Regions from separate parts of the Homo sapiens genome. Here region 1 is linked to region 2. Evidence: promoter capture Hi-C in 16 types of primary human blood cells and fetal thymus (Javierre and others, 2016). All regions are on one chromosome and are shown on one strand. The core of a region is centred on a gene start or on the middle of the fragment in contact, and the rest is flanking DNA. Distances in the headings are between cores, read along the strand shown. Region 1 holds the start of ZNF184 (zinc finger protein 184). Region 2 holds the start of TRIM38 (tripartite motif containing 38).

Evidence for each region. The method cuts DNA at HindIII sites, captures the fragments that hold promoters and counts their contacts. A CHiCAGO score of 5 or more calls a contact.
Region 1: a contact is called between the fragment with the promoter of ZNF184 here and the fragment with the promoter of TRIM38 in region 2, in 3 of 17 cell types (non-activated CD4 T cells, naive CD8 T cells and activated CD4 T cells). The highest score is 13.9, in non-activated CD4 T cells.

What each region holds. Positions count from the first base shown.
Region 1 is chr6:27,468,627-27,474,377 of GRCh38, forward strand. ZNF184 (zinc finger protein 184) reads right to left here and starts at 4,479. Exons shown (of 6, transcript NM_001318891.2): 1 at 4,103-4,479; 2 at 3,662-3,807. The coding sequence starts at 3,668. LOC105375001 (a long non-coding RNA gene) reads left to right here and starts at 4,498. Exons shown (of 2, transcript XR_926664.4): 1 at 4,498-4,683. RefSeq lists enhancers at 3,601-3,730, 4,061-4,150, 4,171-4,270, 4,331-4,490. The HindIII fragment of the contact is 5,482 bases long and covers 398-5,751 here.
Region 2 is chr6:25,958,100-25,964,051 of GRCh38, forward strand. TRIM38 (tripartite motif containing 38) reads left to right here and starts at 4,703. Exons shown (of 8, transcript NM_006355.5): 1 at 4,703-4,756; 2 at 4,950-5,183. RefSeq lists a cis regulatory region at 571-875. The HindIII fragment of the contact is 6,907 bases long and covers 1,147-5,952 here.

The DNA.
Region 1 (5,751 bases), core at 3,229-5,728, 1.5 Mb after region 2:
TTCAACAGAACACAGCATAAACAACCATGGTATTTTCATACAATGGATTATTCCAAAATATAAGAAAGAGCTACTAACATAATTAACAACATGGATGCATCTCTTAAACATAATGTTGAGCAAAACAAGCAAAACAAAATAATGCATACTGTATGACTATATTTATATTAACTTTAAAAACCAACCAAACTGATCTACAGTAATGAAAGTTAGAATAGTACTTCTGGAGGGATAACTGACTGGGCAGAGGCACAAGATACTTCTGGGGCATTAGAAACATTCCATATCTTGGTTATACTAGTTTATACATACATGAAAATTTGAAAAGCTATATATTGTACAGTATTTGTGCACTTTACTGTATATAACTTATACCTTAATAAACAAAACAAAAAAAAGCTTTGCTCTTGGGGGAATCCACTTAGAGTACTGGTTGACAGGAAAGCCTGATTCTCAAAATGACTCGTCTGGTAATTAATTATGTATAATTATGCAAGTCCCTTGTCTTCTTTAGGCTTCAATTTCCTCATCTTTAAAAGACTAGAGGCGAATGTCTGACAAACATACCTTTCAAAATCCTCTTGAAGAGGAGATAGTGGTGAGGAAAACCAAACTAGGCACACCTGTTTCCACAAAGAAGTAAGACAAGAAGAATTTTCTCCTCTTAGAAATTTAATGTATGCAGAAAGACTAGTGAGGGAAGATGTCTCTGGATACAAAATATGAATGAGACTGGCTGGGCAGAGTGGCTCATGCCTGTAATCCCAGCACTTTGGGAGGCTGAGGCGGGCGGATCACAAGGTCAGGAGTTAGAGACCAGCCTGACCAACATGGTGAAACCCCATCTCTACTAAAAATACAAAAATTAACCAGGCGTGGTGGCGTGTGCCTGTAATCCCAGCTACTCAGAAGGCTGAGGCAGGAGAACTGCTTGAACCCGGGAGAGGGAGGTTGCAGTGAGCCGAAATTATGCCACTGCACTCCAGCCTGGGCGACAGAGCAAGACAGTGTCTCAAAAACAAAAAAAAAAAATTTGAATGAGACATGAGGTATGAAATAGACTAGCAATGCTGTAAGAGATGCTTGGTAAAAACTAAGAAAAAACAATCAAACAGGTAAGGGTCAAGATGGATATTTATGACCACACATAGATGTGTGAGATAGTGGCAATAAGCCAAGTGAATGTACACCTGAAAAAAAGAAGGGAAACTCAATATTTTAGGCATTAACCAAGGCTTGTTGGGTTGGAAGACATAAGACCTTAAAACTATAAAAAAAAATCAACTAAGGGACTAAATATAAAGACAGTGGGGAACATGAAGAATAAAAAGAAAAGCTAAACAATCAAATGGACAGAACCCAAGGGAATCTAAATTGCACCACTAAGGTGCAAGGGCAATCTCTTTGGGATACCACCATTAGGGTAGGTCAGTGCCATCTAATTTTAGTTCCAAGATTCAAATTCCAGAGACAGCTAACTGGCCTAGTGTGGGTTTTATGACCAAGCCTTGTTTAAAAGAGAGCTGGGTAAAATTTACGCAAAATGATCTGATATAAACAGACAGACTAAGAGATGGATTATTGTATGTGATGCAATAATCCTGAGTGTGAAACCTGATAGAAATTGTAGATAAATCGAAAGAAAGAAAGAAAAAAAAAAACAAAAGTAGCACCATGCTGGCAACAGTGTGCCATAGACAGCTTAGGCAGGTGGGGGTGATGAATAATATGGAGAAAAGCAGTTTCAACTGTTTGGCTAAGTATGTAAGTTTCATTTTGTAAAAAATGTATTAATCAAGAAATTCTTAATTTATATTAATGGTGTCATGCCTCAGAAAGTAGAGGAAGCAATAAAGGGAACTATTATGCTCAACTTGATCTTGACCAGTAAAGAAAAACTGTTTTGTAACAGAAGTCTTAAGAAAAAAATGAAGATATTATCTTGGAAGCTCTTAACAGTGAAAGAAAATGTTCTAAATGCACAGACAGGTACCTAAGACTTTAGGAAAACAGAATCAAGAGAAATGTCTCAGGTAAGATGCTTTTTATTCCAAATAACAGCAACCAACAGAACCAAAAACAGCAACAGTTACAGAAACCAACTGTGTGCTTGGCACATAGTAAATGCTCAGTATGTGCTACAAAAGTTATGATTACAAGGAACAGAGGCTCAGTAAAGTTAATCCTAATGATAAAATTGTGAGAAATCCACAAAATAAAGAAAATACAAAGGCTTTTAATGAAACTACTTTGGCTGATTTAATTCTGAGAAACTTAGAATATATATATAAAAAAATCCACTGTAAAAAAGACTTGAAGTACAAAAAATTGAAGAAAAGTATGGACCAAACCTACATTATTCACATGACTAATATGAATAATGTTAAGACTTCTAATGATATTATCTTTAACAAAGGCAAAAAAAGGACTGCATGATAATAGTTAGGTCAAACCAAACTTGATTGCACAGCCATACCTAAAGAATGTAAAGACAACACCAATGCAGAGAGAACTCCATAGGGACATGTCATAAGCCTCTATCCTTACCCTGATCTGTTCAATGACAGGTAGGAAGAAATAGAAGGAATATTCATCAAATCCGCTAGTGGCATTAAGTTAGAAAGGACAGTTAAGGCACTGAATAACTAAATTAGGATTCATAATCATTCTGAAAGCCTAAAACATGTGACCAAAAAATTGAACAGTCATAAATGTAAGTCATGACATTAAGGATAATAATAATTCCATTACACAAAAATGGTGTAAATCTAGATCACTGCAGTTTATGTAAAAAAGATCTAAAGTTTACAGTACATCACTGATAGTTTTTAAAGCAAATGTGATCTAATGCCAAACAGCGGAAGTATAATCCGAGTCAAAGGAAGTAGTACATTATCCTCTCAGGTACTTTTCAAAGCACATCCAAAGAGCTATGTTTACCATTAGGCACTGCATTTTAAGAAAAATGCTGACAAGCAGGAGAGTTTTCAGAGAAAGGTCTAGATACATCACATAGACCAATCAAAAGAAGTGAGGCTATATTGCTTAGAAAAGAATTTATGAGGAGGAGTTGTAACAGCTGAATTCACATATCTTAAGGGCAGCAGTGTGAAAGAAAGAACAGACAGTTTCCTTTTCTTTGGAGGACTAAGAACTAAGATCAACACAAAAGTTACAGGGACAAGTACATCTGTTTAATATAAGAAACTAAAAAAGAAAGCCAACAAGGGAATAGTCTGCACCCAAAATGGCGAGTTTAATGCCACACTAGTTCGGGCATAGGGTTGACAGACAGCCGTCTGCCAAGGAGATTTCAAAACTGACTCTTTCATTGAAGGGATAATTGCCAAGATGTCTTCTGACTTCAAGATTATAATTTTAATATTTAATATTCAGAAGTCATGTGGGGATCACAGATATTCTGAATGATTATGTCTTTTCATTCCCCAATGGAACGAAAGAAAAAAATAAACTCCTCTCCCAAGTATCTCTCTATAAAACAGAATCTCTCCCTACAATGTAATTCGGTTTCTTTGCTAATCCCTAAGCATACCGTTCCTTCCTTCCAAATCTCCTGCTCTGATCTCAAGTATTTGATACTCCAGTCATGACTGTTCTCAAGCCTCCATCACCCCGCTCTCCCCCAAGTCGACCCCACTACCTTCCATCTCAGGAGCTCATCCCGTTCCTCTGGAACTTGAACACCAGGGTTCGCCAGGCAGCGTTCCTTCAGCTGGTATCTCGGTCTAGGACTCAGATGTCTAACTCCCCTTGCAGGGAATCTGCAACACGCTGAGGTTGTCTACCCTAAAAGACACAGGATGGCGTCAGCAGCATACGTCACACAATCACACATCAGAGTCTTGCAAAGTGACCAAGAGGTGCTACACAAGAGAAGTGCCCCAAGAGAGCACTAGAGAGGTGTGTGGCACTCCGATGAACAAAACAGAGTGGAGATCGGGTACGCGGGTTCTGCTTCAGATCCAAAAAACCCTTGGTGCCCACCCTAGAATCTGGCCGGGGCATCCACAGACCTGGTGTGTTCCCTCTGTGCACACTTGTGACTCACACCCCTGCGAGCTCGGATAACACGAAGACACACCTGTTGCAGAGCGTTAAAGCTGGAAGGTGGACAAACAGGGCGGGGCCCGGCACCCGACTTCCCCTTAGGCCAGAACAAAAGAACAAAGCCCTCCAAGGGATCAGGGCGGGACCGCCCCGCACAGAAGGAGGCGAGGTGCGCCCCCTTCGAGGACTCCCCAGCTTTCTCCTGCAGAGGCCTCTAAGCGCGAAATCAGAAGGGTGACGTCACGAGTCCGGAGGGCTGGCTGTTGCCATGGTGATACCTGAGCTCCCCTCCCCCTATAGCGATCCACACACTCTGATCCCGGGTCCGGAAGCGCATTGACCGCCACCAGACCTAACGCAGGGAGCCGAAGCAACTGGACTTCCAGCGCGCCAACCTCTTTCCACGCCTACAACCGGCTTCAACGGTCACTTCCGGTCGTTACGAGCGAGCCCCGCCCCGCACGCCGGCGCCGGGCGGGCACACTGGACCAGCGTTCCCAGAACACTCCGCGAAGGTGTTCCTGAACTTCATTTCCCAGAGGCTTTAGCTAACGTGTACTTTCGCCCTGCGATGGGCCGCACATTTTCGCCGCCAGTCTTTTGCTCCTGTTTCAGGTATGCGTGTGCATTGTAAACTTGTCTGACTGAACTGATTATAAGAAATGCACGTCTACTGACCGAGCGCAGTGGCTCACGTCTGTAATCTGAGCACTTTGGGAGGCCGAGGTGGGTGGATCACTAGGTCAGGAGTTCGAGACTCAGCCTGGCCAATATGGTGACACCCCGTCTCTACTAAAAATACAAAAATTAGCCGGGCGTGGTGGCGCGCGCCTGTAGCTACTCAGGAGGCAGAGGCAGAAGAATCGCTTGAACCCGGGAGGAAGAGGTTGCAGTCAGCCGAGATCGCGCCACTGCACTCCAGCCTGGGCGGCAGAGCGAGACTCCGTCTCAAAAAAACAAAACAACAAAAAAAAAAAAAAGAAAGAAAGAAAAGAAAAAAAAGAAATACACGTCTACACACAGTTTTAAAACGCAAACAATCGTTACCTTTATTACATGTTCTACCTTCTATTTTCTGTTCTACTCTTTTGTCGTTTTGAAAATACTGGTAGTTACCCATTAAAATTGTTTTCACGACTCTCAAATGAGTGGCGACCAACTTTTTTTTTTTTTTTTTTTTTTTTGAGACGGAATCTAGCTCTGTTGCTCAGGCTGGAGTGCAATGGCGCGATCTCGGCTCGCTGCAACCTCCACCTCCCGGGTTCAAGCGATTCTCCTGCCTCAGCCTCCCGAGTAGCTGGGATTACAGGCATGCACCACCATCCCCGGCTAATTTTTGTATTTTTAGTAGAGACGAGGGGGTCACCATGTTGGCCAGGCTGGTCTCGAACTCCTGACCTCAAGTGATCCGCCCGCCTCGGCCTCCCAAAGTGCTGGGATTGCAGGCGTGAGCCACTGCGCCCGGCCCCAACATGTTTTTCTAATGCTTAAGGAAACCCGGAGATAATATTCCCATGTTTTGCCACTTAGTAAAGCATTTTATATGCCTGTGTCAGCGAGCACATAGCTGCAAGTGTAGCCCATGGCCAGTCTGTCACTGTGTCCTTGGCAGAAAAAAAGAATCCAACAAATCGGTAGGTTTTTATATTTAAGACATGGCACTTGCATTTTATTATGCTGGCG
Region 2 (5,952 bases), core at 3,453-5,952:
GCCACCACACCGGTCTGGTTTTTTTTGGTGGTTGTTGTTTTAATCCTATAATCCTGTGTCCTTTCTTCCTACCTCTGAGTAGTGCTTACTCTCTCCCCTTTAGTCATTTGAAAAGTTTATCAGAAAGTGGGTGCAGTTTCAGGCTGGGTACCGTGGCTCATGCCTGTAATCCCAACACTTTGAAATGCTTAGATGGGAGGATCATTTGAACCCAGTTCAAGATTACAGTGAGCTGTGATCGTACCATTGTACTTCAGCCAGGGTGACAGTGCAAGAGCCTGTCTCTAAAAACAAACAAAAAATTGCTTTCACACTGTGATGCTATCACATCTCTCCTAAGCTCTTGTTGGGGCTCAGAAATTGATACCCTAATATATGGCCCTTGGTCATATTGAACTGAAGAAGCCTCAAAGTCTCTCTGACATCCCTGCCACCAACTATCCCTACCAAAACACATCGTGGAATTAAAGTTTCTTTATCTACCTAAGATCCAGACCCACCAAAAAGAGCAATTATTTTTATTTACCCTTCCTGTAAGACCAAGAATGTAACCATGCCCGAACGGACTTTCACAAGATAATGTTCAAGTTAATCTCTGTTCCCTGATCTACTTACTCTCCCTAGTAATGAAAGGAGTTGGCCAGCTTGCTTTAGGCAGACAGTAAGGGAATGGTACCCAGAGAACCTCTGACCTGCCCCACAAGTGCTTACACCGGATGTTTTGTGCAGATAAGGGAACTTGCACAGGGGGCTTGCCTAAACATGCCTGCAGTGGATGATTCCTTTCCTTAACACATGCACAGTTCAGGAAATTAATCAATATGGAGTAGCTCAGTCTAAAGGCCTGCATGCACTGGTAGGACAGGGTGGAGTTGTCAGGAATTTGAGTCTTAAGCCCTAGTATTCAACTGTGAAGAGCAAACCAGAAATCTGCTTTCAGGACCCTTGTCTTTGCTGAGAGCTTTCCTTTCACTTAATAAATTCTACTCCACTCATTCTTTGATGGCTGCATGCCTAATTCTTCCTGGCTGTGAGACAAAAACCCGGACCTAGCTGAGCGAAGGAGCAAAAATCCGCAACAGTAATCCCATCAACAGAGTTTCTCTTCTTCCCCTCCCATAATCTGTTTTGCCAGGATAATATATAAGCTTTTAAGCCCTCTTGGGAAGTGGATAATCATTCTATGGTTCTCCCTGTGTACATGTTAATAAATTTGTGAGTTGATTTTTCAGCAAAGTTTCCCCAGAAGCCAAAGGGGAAATTTCCCTTGGCCCCTCCACTCTCTTTTCCCAGCTCTTCTTTTACTTTCGTTTTTATTTCCTCAGCCCAGTAGGTCACAGCCTTCTTTTTATTTCTTCTCTGTCCAAACCATCAGTATATCCTACAGGTGGGAGAGAAGCAGCTCTCTGGGAAACCAGTAAGCACCATGAGTTCTGATACTTTCTAGTACCATTTGACATATTAACATCCCCGCCACCCCTAATATGTATGGACACGCACACACATACCACATCACATGCATCACACTAACACAAACTATGTATCACATACCACACACAGCACACACAGTACCACATACCCCACACAACACCCACACCACACTACGTGCATCATGCACATATGTGCACACACCTCTTGTGATGTGTGTTTAGTGCAATTCAGAAAGTTACTCTTTGATTTAATGCACATCACTATGCTTAGAAATATTCTAGTTACTGGGATTCATCAGTGAACAATATTGAAAAAAATCCATCCCTTTGCATTCTCATGAGGGAAGCAAACACTAAACAAAATAAATTAGTAAAATATTCAGTGATAAGTGCCATGGGAACAAAATAGATTTGAAAATGTTTGGGAGGGAGAGAGGGGTACACTTGCTAACAAGTGGTCAGGATAGGGTTAGTTGAGAGGCAAAATCTGAAGGAGTTGAGGAAAGGCATTCTAGGAATAGCTGAGTGCTGACTCTTGCCCACAGTGGGAACACACAGTACAGAGCTTCTGAAGGAGACTCTAGTGACCTACTTCCCATTGTGAGTCTTTGGACTCCTATATCCCATAATCACAGGATCAAGCCTAACTTTACATATTAGAGATAATGCATTCCTCCTTGGGGATAGTTCAGGTTGATTTCTCCCTAGGCCTGCCTTTGTCAACATATTCCTGAAGTCTCATCTGCACCCCATCTCTGCTTCTAATATTGGCCACTCTGTGCATGAACCAGCCCCTCCTTCCTGCAATGGGAAACAGGTGTGAGATGGGACAGCTGTCACAATCCGTTTTGCTTTTGTCTTGCTGTTATTATTGGTAATGGTAGTTTGTTTCCTTTTTAGCATTCACTAGCTTCCTTTTCCTGATCCTTTGATAGTGTTACCAGAAAGGGGGTCCCAACCCAGACCCTAAGAGAAGGTTCTTAGATCTCGTGTGAGAAAGAATTTGGGGCAAGTCTACACAGTAAAGTGAAAGCAAGAAAGTAAAGGAATAAAAGAACGGCTACTCTACAGGCAGAGCATCAGCTTCTGGACTAAGGATACTGATATGGTTTGGCTGTGTCCCCACCTAACTCTCATCTTAAATTCCCACATATTGTGGGAGGGACCTGGTGGGAGGTAATTGAATCATGGGGGCAGGTCTTTCCCTGAGTAATTTATACTGCTGTTCTCATGATAGTCAATAAGTTTCATGAGACCTGATGGTTTTATAGAAAGGAATTTCCCTGCACAAGCTCTTTGCCTGCTGCCATCCATGTAAGACCTGACTTGCTCCTCCTTGCCTTCTGCTGTGGTTGTGAGGTCTCCCCAGACACGTGGGACTGTAAGAGCATGAAACATTTTTTCCTGGTATAAATTACTCAGTCTCAGGTATGTCTGGATCAGCAGTGTGAAAATGGACTAATACAGATACTTACAGTTATTTCTTGATTATGTACTAAACAAGGAGTGGATTATTCATATGTTTTCTGGGAAAGATGTGGGCAATTCCCAGAACCAAGCGTTCCTCCCCTTTTTAGACTATATAGGGTAGCTTCCTGACATCGCCATGGTATTTATAAACCACTATGGAGCTGGTGGGAATGCCTTCTAACTTGCTAACACATTATAATTCGTGTATAATGAGCAATGAGAATGACTAGAGGCCACTCTTGTTGCCATCTTGATTTTGGTGGGTTTTGGTCAGCTTCTTTACTGCAACCTGTTTTATCAGCAAGATCTTTATGACCTGTGTCTTGTGCCAACTGCCTATTTCATCCTGTGACTTACAATGCCTAACTTCCTGGGAATGCAGCCCAGTAGGTCTCAGCCTTATTTTACCTAGCCCCCATTCAAAATGGAGTCATTCTGGTTTGAACACCTCTGACAATAGGACAGATCTGGAATGAGCCATGCCTGGGTACAGAGTCACATCCACAACAATGAAAGTTGTAGATATCTGCAAGGACTCATCGTGGGACCAAGGATTCAGGGGCTCATTCTTTCTCCTCTCTCTGTGTGCTGGTTGCCTCAGGAGTAGAATGTCCCATGCTATGCATGGGGTCTGCAACCATCATGCCAGGGCATGATGAATCGTAGGTGGCAAAACAACAGAAGGCTCTGTGAGCACCCAGGAGGGTGCAGTGCTGAAGAGTCTTCTGCTTGGTATAGGAAGAAAGGAACGTGTTTCCCAATCTTGCCTTTATTTTGAGTAGTTGGACCAGAGGGATTGCAGCTGGGCCAAACTCCATGTTCCATTGGCTATCAGGGTCAGCAGGCAGGCCAGGGGCCCAGACAGGCCAGTGGCTCCCAGAATTCAAGTTTAATTTCTCCTCCCACCTGTGTCCTGAGCTCCCCTTACTGGTTCCCTTGGACCACTGCATCTACTTAAGCCAGCATTTATTATGTTGTTATCATAAATGCCTCTTACACCTGAGACTTATAAATGTGACAAGCTCTTATTGTGAGATAGTAATCCATCTTTTTTCCCCATGAAATAATAATTCTAACGGGTGGTGATAGTACTTTTCCTTTCATTTTGAAGTGGAGAAGCTGGAGCTAAGTCATTAAGGACTTGACCCTGGACCCCACAGCCTTTTCTCCACAAAGCACAAAGCAGAGTGATGGTCCCAGGGATCCCACACAGCTCTAAGCTGGGGGCACTCACTGCTGGGCCACTAGTGACTCCCATTTTCTATCCTGGCTGACCCTCGCTATTGAAGAAGATCTGAGTCCTGCAGAAGGACAGCAAGGAGAAAAACAAGACACAGAACGGGACAGAGAAGAATAGAAAGCTGACTCAGATGAATTTTGTGATGCCAATGAGTCCTACTGCTGTTACCACCCCTTTTTCCACCACACCCTTCAGAGCAGTTATAGAACCACAAGCAACCCATAAATAGCAAAAGAAGTAACATCAGCTAGGAAGGCTTAAGGACTCCCAAGGGAGTTGGTGGCAAAAGTAGAAAGATCTCAAATCAGAGTCTGTGAACTGAACCTCTGCAGGCTTCCTGTTTTTAGATACTCTGTGTTGGGGTCACATGATAGTTTACAGGGTTATTAATTGGTTCCTTCTTTTTATTGCTGTAAAAGAAGGATATTTTCTTCCTACGTTTCCCCCTCCTTTACCGGAGAGGCGGAGTGCAAATGATATGAACAACGTCACTAGTTTTCTCCTAAATCTTATGAGCCCCGCCTCCCACAGTAGTTTCACTTCTCAGTTTAATCCGGTCTGAGTTAACTTCCTGACCCAGGAAGTGGCAGCAACAGAGGGGACTAGCAGCGAATATGTAAGTGTCTGAGCAGTGAAGGTTACGGAAAAGGTCCAGGCTAAGGTTTTCTCAGTGGATATGTGAGTGTGTACTGATGGCAAGTGGGGTGGGGAATATATTTCGTGACAGCAGGGCCCCTCCAACTCTGAAAATGGTCAGGACTTTCTTTGTTTTACAGCTCTCACCTCTTTCCTGCTCTTTCTTTCACCAGACTTTACACCAAATCTCAGAAGATTCAGAACTTAGATGAGTGGGGCCCAGGACAGGAACCCTGGAGCCTTGGAAGGAGGGGAGCCCCATCTCCCCAGAAGAGCAGTGACCCCAGCAGAGAGGGGCCTGGTGTATCACTGGAGGAAATAGCCTGCCAAGGAATACACGTCTTCAGAAGAAATTCTGTGTGGCTTCAAGAGACTGATCAAATTGTGAGAGGAAAACAGCCTACCCGGTAATTGTAGTTAAATTACTGTTTTTTATTCTAGGCACTCTTCAAACTTCCTCCTGACTCTGCCCCTGTCCTAGAGGAGCTCCCAGGAGTAGGGGTGTGGGGGCGGGCGGGGGGGAGGGATCGGGGGTACAGGGAGAGCCCAGCTAGGTTCTCAGAAGAGGCAGGCTTTTTCGCTCCTGGTCACTCCTCTGTTGCCTATCCCTGGCCTCCCCCATCTTCTTTCTGCCTTCCCTACCTCCTTGGGTCTGCAAACTCTTTATGTTGCAATCACTCTGAACATGTCTCTTGAGATAGGTCCTGTCCTGGAGAAGAGATAGTAAAAGTAAACTCCCCAGTTCTGCAGGAGCTCTGATCCCATAGAAATAACTGCTCCTCAGGAGCAAACCCTCTGCTCTGCAGCCTTCTTTCCAATTCTTATTCCCTCAGTTTAGGGAGAGGGCACAAAAAGGATAAACCGGTTCTTCTGGTTGTTCTGGTTGCCTTGATTGCTTCCATTATCCTCCTGGTTGGGTCTCTAGCAAGACGTTATTAGCCAGGGAAGTCCCACTTAGGCACCCCTCTCTGCAGAAGAGGTATTCACTATTCTCCTTTCTCTTTCTTTTGCCTATTATACCTCTGCTCCTGAAAGCAAAAACAACAACAACAAAAACACAAACAAAAAACAACCGACCTTATTAACCAGTGTTGGTTGTTGTTCTTTGTGGGGGATGGGGGGGGTCGAGGTGGAGTCAAATTTTATTGTCATGATGGTGTAGGAGCCAAGGGAACA